Linked DNA regions of Homo sapiens: regions 1, 2, 3 and 4 are each linked to region 5. The links are contacts of gene promoters, found by promoter capture Hi-C in blood cells and fetal thymus (Javierre and others, 2016). All regions are on one chromosome and are shown on one strand. The core of a region is centred on a gene start or on the middle of the fragment in contact, and the rest is flanking DNA. Distances in the headings are between cores, read along the strand shown.

Region 1 (2,700 bases), core at 117-2,616, 520 kb before region 5:
GGAGTTCTCTATATATTCTGGATATTAATCCTTTGTTGGGTATATGATTGGCAAATATTTTCTCCTATTTTGTCAGTTGCCTTTTACTTTGTTACACAAAATTTTCATGAAATCTAATTTGTATTTGTACTATTGTTGCCTGTTCCTTTGGTGTCATATTTGAGAAATCATTGCCAAATCCAATGTTGCAAAGTTTCTGCCCTGTGTTTTCTGCTAAGAGTTTTGTAGTTTTATAGGTCTTATATTTAAGTAATGAATCCATTTTGAGTTTGTTTTTAGTTTTGGTGTTACATAAGGGTTCAACTTTGTTTTTTTGCATGAGGATATCTAGTTTTCTTAGGACCATTTGTTGAAGACAGTCATTTCCTCATTGAATGGTCTTTGCACCCATCTCAAAAATCATTTGACTGTATATGCAAGGGTTTATTTCTGGACTTCATTCTGTTTCATTGGTTTGTATGTCTGATTTTATGCCAGTACCATGTGGTATTGATTACTGTAGCTTTGTAGTAAGCTTTGAAATCAGGAAGTGTGAGTTTTCCTGCTTTGTCCTTTTTCTGGATTGTTTTGGCTATTCAGGGTCTCTTGAGATTCCATATGAATTTTAGGATGAGCTGTTCTGTTTCCATAAAAATCATCACTGGGATTTTGATAAGGGTTGCATTACATCTGTAAATCGCTTTTGGGTAGTATTGACATCTTGACAGTATTGTCTTCCAGTCCATGATCATGGGACGTGTTTCCGTTTATTTATGTCTCTAATTTCTTTCAACAGTGTTTTGTAGTTTTCTTTGTACAAGTTTTTCACTTCCTTGGTTGAGTTAATTCCTAAGTATTTTGTTCTTTTTTGATGATACTGGAAAAGGAACTATTTTCTTAGGTTTTTTTTTTTTTGGATTGTTTATTATTTATAGAAATGCAGCTGATTCTGTGTGTTGGCTTTATATCCTGCTACTTCATGAATTCATTTATTCTAACAGTTTTTGTGGAATTATTAGAGTTTTTTACCTATACGTCATCTGGGAACAGTGATAATTTTATTTCTTTCCTTCCAATTTAGATGCCTTTTGTTTCTTTTTCTTGCTGAACTTCTTTGGCTAAGACTGTCAGTACTATGTTAAATGGAAGTGGCTCTCTGACATGGTTTTTAAGCAAGGATGCAGCTGAATATTTTTGGCATTATCTGGATTTCTCCAGTATATTCCTATGTGATAATATGGAGAGAATCAAAAAATACCTGCCACTTCCTTGCCTTTTGCCATTTGACTTTCAGTTGGAAAGGAAGTTCTGGAGATTGTCTCACTAGAAAGGTGGGCTCTGCTGAACCAAAAAGGGATCAAGACTTGGTTTGCAGCTTATACTAGTAAACCAGTGTGCTGATAAGAAAAAGAAAGTGATTGAGTTAGAAGAGATTGAAAGAATATTAACCTGGCTTTAAAAATTAAATTATTAGAGACTTCATTTTTTAGGTCACTCTTTAGATTTACAGAAAAATTAAGCAGGTAGCACAGAGTTCTTATATTACTCATCCACCCTCAGCCCAGTTTCCTCTGTCATTAATATTTTACGGGAGTATTGTATTTTTGTTATAGTTAGTATATCAATATAGATACATTTTTATTAACTAAAGTTTATATTTTATTCAGGTATTCATTTATTTATACTTTATTTCTGTTCCAGGATACCACATTGCATTTAGTTGTCATATCTCCTTAGGTTCCTTTTGGATATGCCAGTGTCTCAGACTTTTTTTTTGTTTTGGATGACTTTGACAATCTTGAAGTACTGGTCAGGTAGTGTGTAGGACGTCCCTCTGTTGAAAGTTGTCTGATGCCTGATTTCCATGTAAGTACATCTTAAGAGTATCTGGTTTGGTTGTGCTTAGGTGCCTGGAAGTGCCTGCATCAGGATATTGTTGTGGTTTGTTTTTGTTGAGGACAAGGGTGGCAGCTGTACTCTTCTAGGGGACTGGGGAGAAGAGACATAGCATACAACCTTAGGGAGTGGGAAAAACAGCCAGATGTCATGATTTCAGAGAGGAGAATAGGTATCTGTGTGTCATTCTCAGTGACGTCATCAAACCACAGTCTCTGGTCATGCTTGTAGAAGGCCCTTTTGGGCTGAGAATCCTTTTGTTTCTATCTGGTACTGGAAATTTTGGCAGCATTGGGGCTATTGGTGGTTATGTCCACAGCTCAGGAAGCTGTTGAACAAAAAGGAAGCTTTTTTGTTTGTTTTATGTGTGCTTCAGGGTTTTCAGAATCTGAATAACAGCAGCCCGTTGCACCCAGTGAGCGCTGTGGATGGGCTGTACAGATGAGAGAGTGTGACAGAGGCTGAAGATAGGCATGGATGTTCCCCTAACGGAACTCTGGTTTTCTTGACTCATGGCAGCCCTTAGCCTACACCTTATTATCATTAAACCATTTTTTCCTTTTATGATTGGGCTTCAAGAAATGGGGAGGGAATTGGATTTAGTGCATGTATTTGAGTCCAGCTAATGACTTTTTCCATGTAGACTTTTGCTCCTATGCCTTAGGTTATCTCTTGGTGTGTGGGGTGTGAGCGTGCATGGGGTTGGCTTGATTAGAGATCTGTAGCTAGCAGAGAAAGTGGGCAGTGTGGGCATACTTCAGTTATCCTGATGAAAAGCACCAGAAGAAATATCACTGTTAAAATGTGGTCCGTAATGGTGCTGAT
Region 2 (2,700 bases), core at 149-2,648, 560 kb before region 5:
CCTTGGCCTCCCAAAGTGTTGGGATTACAGGCGTGAGCCACTGTGCCTGACCATGATGTTTTCTTCTATATCCCTAGAGGAATGTCCATCTTTTTCTATTGTACATACTCTTCCAGTCTTTATAGCAGACCACACTTTGAGCCATTTCTTGTAACAACAATGTTGGCTATATTTATTGTGTCCTTGTGCTGGGCTCTGTGCTAAGTGCTTTTATTTTGTTTAGGTTTCATAACAACTCTTTATTTTATTTTTATTTCAGCAACAGATTGACAAACTGGATCATAACAACTTATATATATTCTTATGTATTTATTTTATAAATGATGAAATGGAGGCTAATGGAGCCAATTAAATAACTTTCAAAGGTCACTGCTGACATTGATTTGATTCTGAAACTAAATTCTTATTGCCATATACTGCAGCTCCTTCTCTGATTATAAAAACGAGCAGTTTGTGTAACTTGAATTGGTCCAGAATTTATTTTTGCCATGCACTTGCTATTTAGACGACCATAAAACTAGTTTTCATCTCACTCGCTTGTCATAATGCTTTATATCAGGGGTTGGCAAACTTACTCTGTAAAGGGCCAGGTAATAAATATTTTAGGCTTTGCCAGCCATATGGTCTCTGTCGCAACTACTCAACTCTGCTGTTCTAGTGCAAAAGCAGCCCTAGACAATACATAAATGAATGAGCTTGACGTGTTCCAATAAAACTTTATTTATGGACACTGAAATTTGACTTTCATACTCTTTTGCATGTTACATAATCTTCTTTTGATGTTTTTCCAACCTTTTAAAAATGTAAAAACCATTTTTAGCTCATGGTCTGTACAAAAACAGGCAGTAGGCTGGATTTGGCTAGTAGGCTGTAGTTCGCCAATCCTGCATTTTATCGTTTTGAAGTTTTCTTCTTTGCATCTACTTTTTGGGTGTTCTTTTGTAATATTGGACTCTAAGTCAGCTTGCCTTGCAGATGGTACGGTTTAATAAATGTTGGTATGATTTGGGACAGCCAGCTCATGGAAGCTTTACTTGCTTAGTGATTTGGTCTCCAACACCTGTTCTACTGGCACATATAAACAGAGATTTTAATTGAGAAAAAGATTTAATCAGTAGGTAACCTCAGATACCATTTTAACAGAAATCAGCTCCCAAATGCTTGTTTGTATGTGTGGCATAGTGGAATATCAGGATTGGGAAACTTCAACCCCAATCCTTGCTCTGCTGTCAATCCTGGTTATTTTAGGCAAAAGTTACTTTACCTCTCTTGCTCTCAGATTTCTCAGCTGTAAAATAAAATAGCCCAGATTAGATGCTGTCTTTATGTGAAGTCTCTCTGTAGATGATTGTTATGGTCCTCCTGAGATTTAAACTCCGTATATGTAAACTGCGGCCCGATTTTTGGCACAGTTGGCTCGGGAGCAGCAACTTGTGCTTGTACCTGTTGGGTCTGCAAGTGTATCCAGAGCCAGTGAGTCAGCACTGCCATGAGCTCCTGGGCTTCCGGTTCATTGGGTTTGAATGTTGGGCCCTCTAATTTAGGTTTGCCTCTTGTTCTTGCCAGGAAAAAAACCAAAAAGCAATACAAAAACACATACGCACACACACACAAAACAAACAAAAAACTGGCTGTGTTGGTGAGTATTCAGAGAAAGGCCTCCCAGACCACACAGCTTATGTTGTTTTGGGATTGCTTGCTTTGTCTAAATGACTTTTTAATTTTCAAGAGATGATTCTTCCTGTGGAGGCAACAGCTCTGACTGCCAGGAAGCTTTTTCCTGATATGCATTTTGAAATATTCCCCAATTGAGTTTCTTTTTAGTTACTCTTGCTTTCATTCAGTTTCTTTAAATGTTTTCATTTCATTAAAGGGTATCCATTAGGACCAAACTTTGCCTCCTCTTTTTACAGTAGCTCCTTCCCCATCCCCTGATGGTATTTTTAGGTGTAGAAAACACCTTGTCCAGAGGGGAGTCCCTGGCCTGCTTCTTTGCCACTCTGACGTAGAGTCCCTGCATGTGCAGCCTTTGGGTTGTGACAGTTGAAGAATGGCATCATGGACCCTTCAGCTCAATGACTTTCCTGGTTCTCCTTTCTGTGTGACACACAGGATGCTCGCTATATTGTTTCTGAGAAAAAGCTTGTATTGCTTCTGGCCATTTTCATCCTTTTTAGAGCTTTGTAGATTTCACTGAAGTTCTGTCTTTTTCCTGTGGCTTCCTACCTAGTTATTTCTAGAGGATTTGAAGGTTTATACTTATAGCCGCTTCTGGGGTGAGTCACCATGCCTGACTTTTGCTTCTCAGGCAGCTGCCATTTAAAAAAATTTTTTTGTTAATGTTTTTCAGCTAGCATCTAATCTTCCTGCAAGAATATGGAAGGCTCTATAGTAAAATATACATTTTATGTCCCCATGTTTTTGTACTTCTGTGTTGGACCTTAAAATTTTTTTTTTAGATATAATTAACATACCATAAAGTTGACACTTTTAAAGTATATAATTCAGTGGCTTTTTACTACAATCATGTAACAATCACTACTAATTTGGAATATTTTCATCACCTCCAAAGAAATCTGTATCCATTAGTATATTCCCCACTCTCCCCTTCTGTCAGTCCCTGGGAACCACTAGTCTATGTTCTGTCTATGGATTTCCCTTTTCTGCACATTTCATATAATGGGAACAGTTCAGTATGTG
Region 3 (2,700 bases), core at 130-2,629, 550 kb before region 5:
TGGAGCCTGGACTTCCCATTTGAAGGAGTGGGTTGATATATATACAGCATTTAGAGCAGTGGCTGGCACATGGTATGTGCTATAAAAGCATTGGCAAATGTTATTCACAAAGTAAGCTATAACTCTGAACAGACAGTGATAGGGAAAAAGTCCTGCTGCCAGTGTCTGGAAAACTCTGAGGCCTGTTTTTAGTGTCTGTGTTAGTTAAACCAACTGCTGGACCCTCCTTTTTTTATGAGCCCCCTAAGTGTGCGATCTGCATTGTGTGCATTTCATTTTTATATTCTCAAGGTCCAGCGCAGGGCCAGGACCATGGTAGGTACTCAGACATTTACTGAAGGTATGAAGTTGCTTGAATGCTGATTGGCATCTGAAACTAGGCAGTTCTCATGTGACATATTTGTTTTGTCTTTCAGCCCTGGGCATTTCCAGCTCGAGAGTTCCTTCGAAAGAAGCTGATTGGGAAGGAAGTCTGTTTCACGATAGAAAACAAGACTCCCCAGGGGCGAGAGTATGGCATGATCTACCTTGGAAAAGGTGAGCTGCAGGGAGAGGACTCATTTCTCTCAAGTCTAAAGTTCTGTTAAAGATCAGTTTTCTTGTGGTGGAAGGCCAGTGTGGGTTCTGGTGGAGGAAGCTCTAGGACAGTTGGCTGAAGGCATAAATGCAAATGCTTTGGGCCCTGAGCACAGGGAATATATGTGTACAGAGGCATGCCCCCGGTGTTCCTGTTCCTTGTGTACCCCTTTTCCTGCTTTGGTTTAGGTGCATGTAGTATAGAGTTGCATTCTTCCTCATGTTTAGGCCATTCACTCATGGAACTCAATGGCTCTGTGCTTCTAGGTCAGAATGCTAATTGAATTTCTATAGATTTCCTTTTGTATCTTCTATTTCTTTTATCTATCTTGTGGCTTTTCTTCTCTTGGGAACTCTTTTGGAAAGGAAGATTTGTTGAGGGCCTGTGGTTTTTTGCAGCCTACATGTTTTTAATGGAATGGAAGGAGCACAGATGTCGGGGTTGCATAGATGTAGGTTAGAATTCTGATTTCCTACCATGTGCCCTTACTTAACCCTTAACCTCTGTAAGCCCTAGTTTCTTCATTTGTAAGTTATTGAGAGAGTTGAAAGAGATAGTATAGGCCAGGCACCGTGGCTCACACCTGTAATCCCAGCACTTTGGGAGTGTGAGGCAGGAGGATCTCTTAAGCACAAGAGTTCGAGACCAGCCTGGGGCAACATGGTAAAACCCCGTTTCTATGGAAAAATTAGCCAGGCGTGGTGGCGCACGCCTGTAGTCGTAGCTACTCGGGAGGCTGAGGTGGGAGAATCACCTGAGTCTGGGAGGTCAAGTCTGTGGTGAGCCATGATCATGCCACTGCACTCTAGCCTGAGTGACTGAGTGAGATCCTGGTCAAAAAACAAAAAAATAGTATATGTAAAGCACCTCACTCTGGATATTTGTGTGTGTGCATATTGTATAGCTGGGCCAGATGCTTCATGGGATATTAGATGTTCTGGGCTTTTTGGATTAGGTAGTAAGAGAATAAGATTGAGGAATGGAGTTGGAACAGAAATAGGATGTTGAAAGAGGAATTGGTAGGATGTTCTCCAGAAAGCAGCCAGATGAACATGAAGTTATGTTCATTGAACTATTTGTGGAGCAGAATTTTTTTTAAGTTTCCTTTGATTCTTTGATTAAAAACCTTTCAGATAGCTCATGTAACGGAGTTGATTTGGATAATCTATTTGAGTTGGATAGTCAGTGCTAGCAATAAGCAAGCAGGGTAGAATGACAGTGCTAACAGTATTCTGCTAAGACTCTGTTTTTAATGATAGAGGTCTCAGAAAAATGAGTTGAGAATGACCTTTGAGGCATCTTGTTCGATTTCCTACCTAGTAGAGAAATACCTCTTTTTAGTCTCCCAGAAAACGGCTACCTGCTTCTTATTTGAATGAGAAATTATAGAAACCTAAGGCCTCTTTTCAAAAAGGGAAATAAGTTTGCTTTTTACCCGTAATTCTTATAATATAGTAAGAAACAAAACGCTTAAAGATAATTATTGAGTGGTTACTGGTTAGAAAGAATGTAAGAGGAAAAGAAGTGTACTATCTTCAAAATGCAATTGTTAAGGATTTCATTACCTAAAAAATTTCAATTCCATAATAGCTGATCAGTCTTCTGTTACCCCACAAGAGACCTTACCGGACCACAGATAATTGTGGGCACAGATATTTCTATATGTAGAGCACCCCTAAGAGTTCATTTTAATACCCTTGGTCTTCAGCCAAAATGGCCAAATTGTTTATTTTAAGAGAAGCTGATATTTTAAATTATCTGTAGAGTTGTTTTTTAAAAGTTTACTTTTTAAACTGACTCACATTACAAACTGGATATAATTTAATTTAGTATGTTAACACATTAGTGTTTAGAATAAGAACTGGCACATAGGTGATCAATAAATATGTACTTAAAGAATGGTTGGAATTGCTTATAATCTTTCCATTTTAAAGATAAAGAAATAGTTTAATGTTTAATATTTTCACTAAGGTATTTTAACTAACTCTTAATGCCAATTCTATTATAATGAAAGAAAACAGTGGCTTAGATAATTAGCATTTGTGTTTATTTTATTGCTACCCACTTTTTTTTATGATGGGAGAGAATGGTAAAATTTGAGACTTTGTGGTTAACCTAGAACT
Region 4 (2,700 bases), core at 53-2,552, 610 kb before region 5:
AGGCAATATGTATTTTTTAATAGACTTTACTTTTTAGAGCAGTTTTAGGTTCACAACAAAATTAAACACAAGGTGCAGAGATTTCCCATATACCTTTGTCCCACACATGCATAGCTCCCCCTGTTATCGATATCCCCAACCAGGGTAGAGTGGTACATTTGTTATAACTGATGAACCTAAGCTGTGCAATTTTTGTAGATTTCTTTATCAAATTGAGGAAGTTCTCCTCCATTCCTGGTTTGCTGAGCATTTTTATCGTGAGTGGGTATTGGATTTTGTTAAATGCTTTTTTTAAGTCAGCTGATATGATTACATGATTTTTTTCTTCTTTAGCTTGTTGATGTGGTGAATTACACTGAATGGTTTTTAATGTGGAACTAGCTTTGCAAACCTGAAATAAATCCCACTTGGTCATGGTGTATAATTCTTTTTATACAGTGTTGGATTTGATACGCTAATATTTTGTTGAGAATTTTTGCATCTAGGTTCATGAGCAATGTTGGTCTATGTTTTCCTTTCTTGCAATGTCTTTATCTCTTGGTATAAGGGTGACATTGGCCTCATAAAACAAGTTAGGAAGTGTTTCCTCAGCTAGCCAGCTTTGAGGGTGAGGATTTATCAAGCAGACGTAACTCAGGCTGAGAGACACATGAAGTTCATCTCCTATAACAGCATCTAGGACAGTATGGCTCAGTAATTAACAGTGGGAATTGTAGAGGCATCAAACCTCAGTTCCTATCCCAGGCCTGTCATGCCATCTGCATGATCTTGGATCAGTTAACTGTTAATTCAACAAATAATTATTGAACATGTGCCAGGCACTGGGATAACTGCAGTGAATAAAAAGGGCAGAATTCTCTGCCCTCTTGGAGCCTGCATCCTTTTTTAAGCTTACATTTTAAAACCTTCTGTGCTTCATTTTTCTGCATGTATAAAATAAAAATATCAATAGTAGCTACATCATAGGATTGTTGTGACTATTATATAAATTAACAAATGTAGAACATTCTATATAAGTGTTTTATATTATTACTATTAACACTACTATTGTGCACTAACAGTTAATATTATTATCTATTGACTGAGTTCAGTAGTTATAGTCTAGGAGATTCCCAGGCCATCCTCCCTGCTGTAACTCTGTGCTCCCATTATTTCTGTCTCTCTGCTTCTTCAGTTGGCCTTTTTTATCTTTGGGATCACTAGCCTATTATATGAAACTCCTTCTCTGGCCTAGATTTATCTTGCCTAGGAGATAGTTGGGTGGCTATCTTTCTGCTGCTTTTGAAAACTACCAAAACTTTGCCAGGCGTGGTGGCTCATTCCCATAATCCCAGCATTTGAAGAGGCTGTGGCAGAAGGATTGTTTGAGGGCAGGAGTTTGAGACCAGCCTGGACAACATAGTTTTTTGGTAGAGATCCCCATCTCAAAAGAGAGAGAGAGAGAAAGAGAAAGAGAGAAAGGAAAGGAAAGGAAAGGAAAGGAAAGGAAAGGAAGAAAAAGAAAGAAGAAAGAAAGAAAGAGAGAGAGAGAGAGAGAGAAAGAAAGAAAGAAAGAAAGAAAGAAAGAAAGAAAGAAAGAAAGAAAGAAAGAAAGAAAGGAAGAAAAGAAAAGAAGGAAAAAGAAACACAACAAAAAACCCCTGATAATTGTAATACCAGCAGCCTGGCAGACCGGCTGCATTGGCATCACCCTGGACTAATTAGAAATGCCATAAAAGCTTGACCCATCCCCAGATCAGGAAGACAGATTTAAGCATTAGCCTCCTGTCTCCTTGCCAGTCTACTTGCAGTAAAGCTTTCTTAAAAATGGCTGGGTGCAGTGGCTCATGCCTGCAATCCCAGCACTTTAGGAGGCTGAAGCCAGAGGATCACTTGAGCCCAGGAGTACAAGACCAGCCTGGGCAACAACATAGTGGAGGCTGAGGAGGTAGGATTCCTTGGGCCTGGGAAGTCGAGGCTACAGTGAGCAATGCTTGCACCACTGAACTCTAGCCTGGATGACAGAGTGAGATCCTGTCTCTAAAAAAATAAAAAGAAAAGAAAAATACCCAAACTTTTGCATTTTTTAAAGGGAGGGGGATAGGGAGCGTAAGCCACTAATAGTCCAGGTCTTTGCCTGTGCACTTTCTGAAGGTTGTGGAGTCTTGGCCTGGCCTAGGTTAGAGTGGCAGGGGGCGCTGTATTTTCTCTAGCCATCACTGAAAATCAGGCTGTGTCAAGCCCCACATAGGAAAACTCTGCATTCCAGCTTGGGTAACTTTCCACTGCTTAGCAAGACCCAGAGGAAACGGGAAAGAAAATTTACTCCCTAAGGATAAGGATCCTACCTCTCTGCCAGGAATCCAGAGCTCTTCAGCTTTGCTGTGCCCACAAAGGCCCCCAAAGCAACACCTGCTCAGCCCAACAAAAGCATTACACTAACCAGAGAACAAGCTATGTAAAGATAGGTGATTATAAATTAAGTCTTATCACTATTTTCAGCTTGGCATCATTGAATGCAATAACCACACTTGAAAGGAACCATTGTCCCAGGTTTCATTATCAGTCTAGCTGGCATCTCCTCCACTGCTAATCCTCGCTCATCCAATTCCTCTTCACTGATCCTCAGGTCCACTTCTTGGTTCTGGATCAAAACAGCTCTTACTCTCTGAAGTCTCCACTACCTGAAATAAATGATGTTAGCCCTCCCTGGCCTGCTCC
Region 5 (2,700 bases), core at 83-2,582:
TTTATTGAGACAGAGTTTCACTCTTGTTGCCCAGGCTGTAGTGCAATGGTCTGATCTTGGCTCACTGCAACCTCCACTTCCCAGGTTCAAGCCATTCTCCTGCCTCAGCCTCTCAAGTAGCTGGGATTACAGACACTCACCACCACACCTGGCTAATTTTGTATTTTTAGTAGAGATGAGGTTTCACCATGTTGGCCAGGCTGGTCTCGAAATCCTGACCTCAGGTGATCCACCCACCTTGGCCTCCCAAAGTGCTGGGATTACAGGCTTGAGCTACCACGCCTGGCTGGGTTGGTTCTCAATGGAGTGGTTTGTTTTTGGAGCTGCTCTGCGCAGTGGGGACCAGAATAGGCCTGGGTTCCTAGCCCATTGCTATTCCTTACCAGCTGTGGATTCTAAGGAAAGTCATTTAACCTCGCTGGACCTTAGATTCCTCATCCCTGAAGCCCAAGGGTAAAACAAAACAAAACAAAACAAAACAAACCAACCCATCATGTAAAGCGGGGAACTACAAACGATACAGGTGAAACATGCCTACCACACCACTCACAGGCTATGATGACAAAAACGTGGCTACATCTGGGACCACCCCCCAACCCCCACTTTGTACGTAGGAAATACGGAGTTGAGGATGGAGACCCACAGTATGTCCAGAGTGTCCCCAAAGGCCACAGTGCCCGCCTGGAGCCCTCCAGAGAGCGTGCACTCCCTGGGGTGCCAGCCAGAGACAACTTGCCCTGAGGCTTGGAACTCGATTCTCCGCGTGCCAGAGAAGGGGTGGGACTTCAGAACCCCCAACCCCGCAATCTGGGTCGGGGAGCCTGGCGCACTGCGGGCCGCTCCCTCTAACCCTGGGCTTCCCTGGCGTCCAGGGCCGTCGGGGCCGAGTCCCGATTCGCTCCCACCCCGAAGCCGCGCCAGGACCAACGAGGGCGCAGCCGTATGCCCCAGCCCGCTCCGCGGAGCCCCTCACAGCCACCCCCGCCCCGACCGCGCCCCGCGCGGCTCGAAGCACCTTCCCAAGGGGCTGGTCCTTGCGCCATAGTCGCGCCGGAGCCTCTGGAGGGACATCAAGGATTTCTCGCTCCTACCAGCCACCCCCAAATTTTTGGGAGGTACCCAAGGGTGCGCGCGTGGCTCCTGGCGCGCCGAGGCCCTCCCTCGAGGCCCCGCGAGGTGCACACTGCGGGCCCAGGGCTAGCAGCCGCCCGGCACGTCGCTACCCTGAGGGGCGGGGCGGGAGCTGGCGCTAGAAATGCGCCGGGGCCTGCGGGGCAGTTGCGCAAGTTGTGATCGGGCCGCTATAAGAGGGGCGGGCAGGCATGGAGCCCCGTAGGAATCGCAGCGCCAGCGGTTGCAAGGTAAGGCCCCGGCGCGCTCCTTCCTCCTTCTCTGCTGGTCTTTCTTGGCAGGCCACAGGGCCCCACACAACTCTGGATCCCGGGGAAACTGAGTCAGGAGGGATGCAGGGCGGATGGCTTAGTTCTGGACTATGATAGCTTTGTACCGAGTTCTAGCCAGATAGAAGGTTACCGGGAGCTGGGGAGCGTTGGATTTGCTGCTGGGCTGTGCCGGTGCCCAGAAGGCAGGACCTTGCAGAACCAGCCAGGTCCCTGGGAGACTGTCAGACCCACCAACCTGGTGGCATTCGCAGAGCTGAGATGCATTGGAAATTGCCTTGGGCACATCCCCAAAGATCAGGATGTCCCACCCCAGTCTGAAGGAGATAAAGTTGGGGGTAGGAGAGACGCAGATGCAAGTGATCAGTCTCAGTCCCAGACATTGCCTTGCTCTGCGGGTAGGAATTCAGGATTCATTTTCCAGGGAAGTTCCTGACCTCTGAATGAGAGGGGCTGTGTAAGGCCAATGCCTGGGAGGAAGGCAAGGATGAGTAGAGGTGGGGGGAAACAAGTGTCAGGAAGACTCAAAATCTTCCAGAGAAATTGTGCAGGGTCTTACCAGATCTGTCCTCAAAGCCATGCAAATTGCCTTCTTTGCAATGCATACAATGAGGTGTCTCTGGGGGTCAGAACTGGTTATTAGGGAACTTCTAGCCAGGACTGCTAAATACGCGCTGTTGGCCCACCAGGCTCACCTATAGCCTTCCTTCAGTCTGGGCTTGGTTTGGATTTCACTGTGGGTGCCATCGCCTTTACACTCCTGTTTCTATAGTTTAAAGATAGTGGTGCTTTGGGAAAGTGACTCCTTAAATACAGTTAGGTCCAAGTGAGACAAGTGGCCTGGCTGTCATTTCAGAATAGCAGCTTCCAAGAGGTGATTAATTTCTGTTGGAAGGGTGATCTTTGGGGAGGTGGGTGAAGAGCAGAGACTTGGTGGTACCGTTCCAGGAGCACAGGCTCTCTTCCTTTGCAGTGCAGAATGACCTCTGGCAGCCGGAGTTGTGTTTGTTCTGTAGGATTCTGAGGTGGGCCATGGGCAGCTGGAACTGGGGAATTTTGCCAATCTCTTTCATATTAGGATTGTCTGCAGAACCAGATATGGAGGCTTCTAGCAACGTGAGTGCTCCTGTTCTAATGCCCTTAGAAACAAGAAGGCCACACTGATCATTTCTCTCACTTAGGCAGGGAGACAAGGCAAGAGAGAAACAGTGGATGCTTTTAGGTTCTTTCCCTTCCCAAGCAGTTGTGGACATTGGGCTGAGGGGAACATTTCCACATTGGCTAAAGGAGCGTCCTCCTC

What was found. The method cuts DNA at HindIII sites, captures the fragments that hold promoters and counts their contacts. A CHiCAGO score of 5 or more calls a contact.
Region 1: a contact is called between a fragment that was not itself captured here and the fragment with the promoter of LEP in region 5, in 16 of 17 cell types (neutrophils, naive CD8 T cells, naive B cells and 13 more). The highest score is 14.4, in neutrophils.
Region 2: a contact is called between a fragment that was not itself captured here and the fragment with the promoter of LEP in region 5, in 12 of 17 cell types (naive B cells, naive CD4 T cells, M0 macrophages and 9 more). The highest score is 10.4, in naive B cells.
Region 3: a contact is called between a fragment that was not itself captured here and the fragment with the promoter of LEP in region 5, in 13 of 17 cell types (naive CD8 T cells, total B cells, naive B cells and 10 more). The highest score is 10.9, in naive CD8 T cells.
Region 4: a fragment that was not itself captured here is called in contact with the fragment with the promoter of LEP in region 5 in 3 of 17 cell types (endothelial precursors, erythroblasts and M1 macrophages); the score reaches 7.1 in endothelial precursors.

What each region holds. Positions count from the first base shown.
Region 1 is chr7:127,715,612-127,718,311 of GRCh38, forward strand. All of the region lies in intron 9 of SND1 (staphylococcal nuclease and tudor domain containing 1), which reads left to right. Among named protein-coding and RNA genes, the nearest start is that of SND1, 65 kb to the left of the region's middle. The HindIII fragment of the contact is 1,708 bases long and covers 513-2,220 here.
Region 2 is chr7:127,676,990-127,679,689 of GRCh38, forward strand. The region is part of intron 1 of SND1 (staphylococcal nuclease and tudor domain containing 1); the gene reads left to right. Among named protein-coding and RNA genes, the nearest start is that of SND1, 26 kb to the left of the region's middle. RefSeq lists an enhancer at 2,172-2,261. The HindIII fragment of the contact is 745 bases long and covers 1,027-1,771 here.
Region 3 is chr7:127,694,412-127,697,111 of GRCh38, forward strand. SND1 (staphylococcal nuclease and tudor domain containing 1) reads left to right here. Exons shown (of 24, transcript NM_014390.4): 3 at 417-537. Among named protein-coding and RNA genes, the nearest start is that of SND1, 44 kb to the left of the region's middle. The HindIII fragment of the contact is 4,465 bases long and covers 1-2,700 here.
Region 4 is chr7:127,626,450-127,629,149 of GRCh38, forward strand. No RefSeq gene overlaps it. Among named protein-coding and RNA genes, the nearest start is that of PAX4, 9.7 kb to the left of the region's middle. The HindIII fragment of the contact is 828 bases long and covers 889-1,716 here.
Region 5 is chr7:128,239,946-128,242,645 of GRCh38, forward strand. LEP (leptin) reads left to right here and starts at 1,333. Exons shown (of 3, transcript NM_000230.3): 1 at 1,333-1,361. RefSeq lists promoters at 1-1,361, 1,115-1,361 and a cis regulatory region at 1,279-1,287. The HindIII fragment of the contact is 7,258 bases long and covers 1-2,700 here.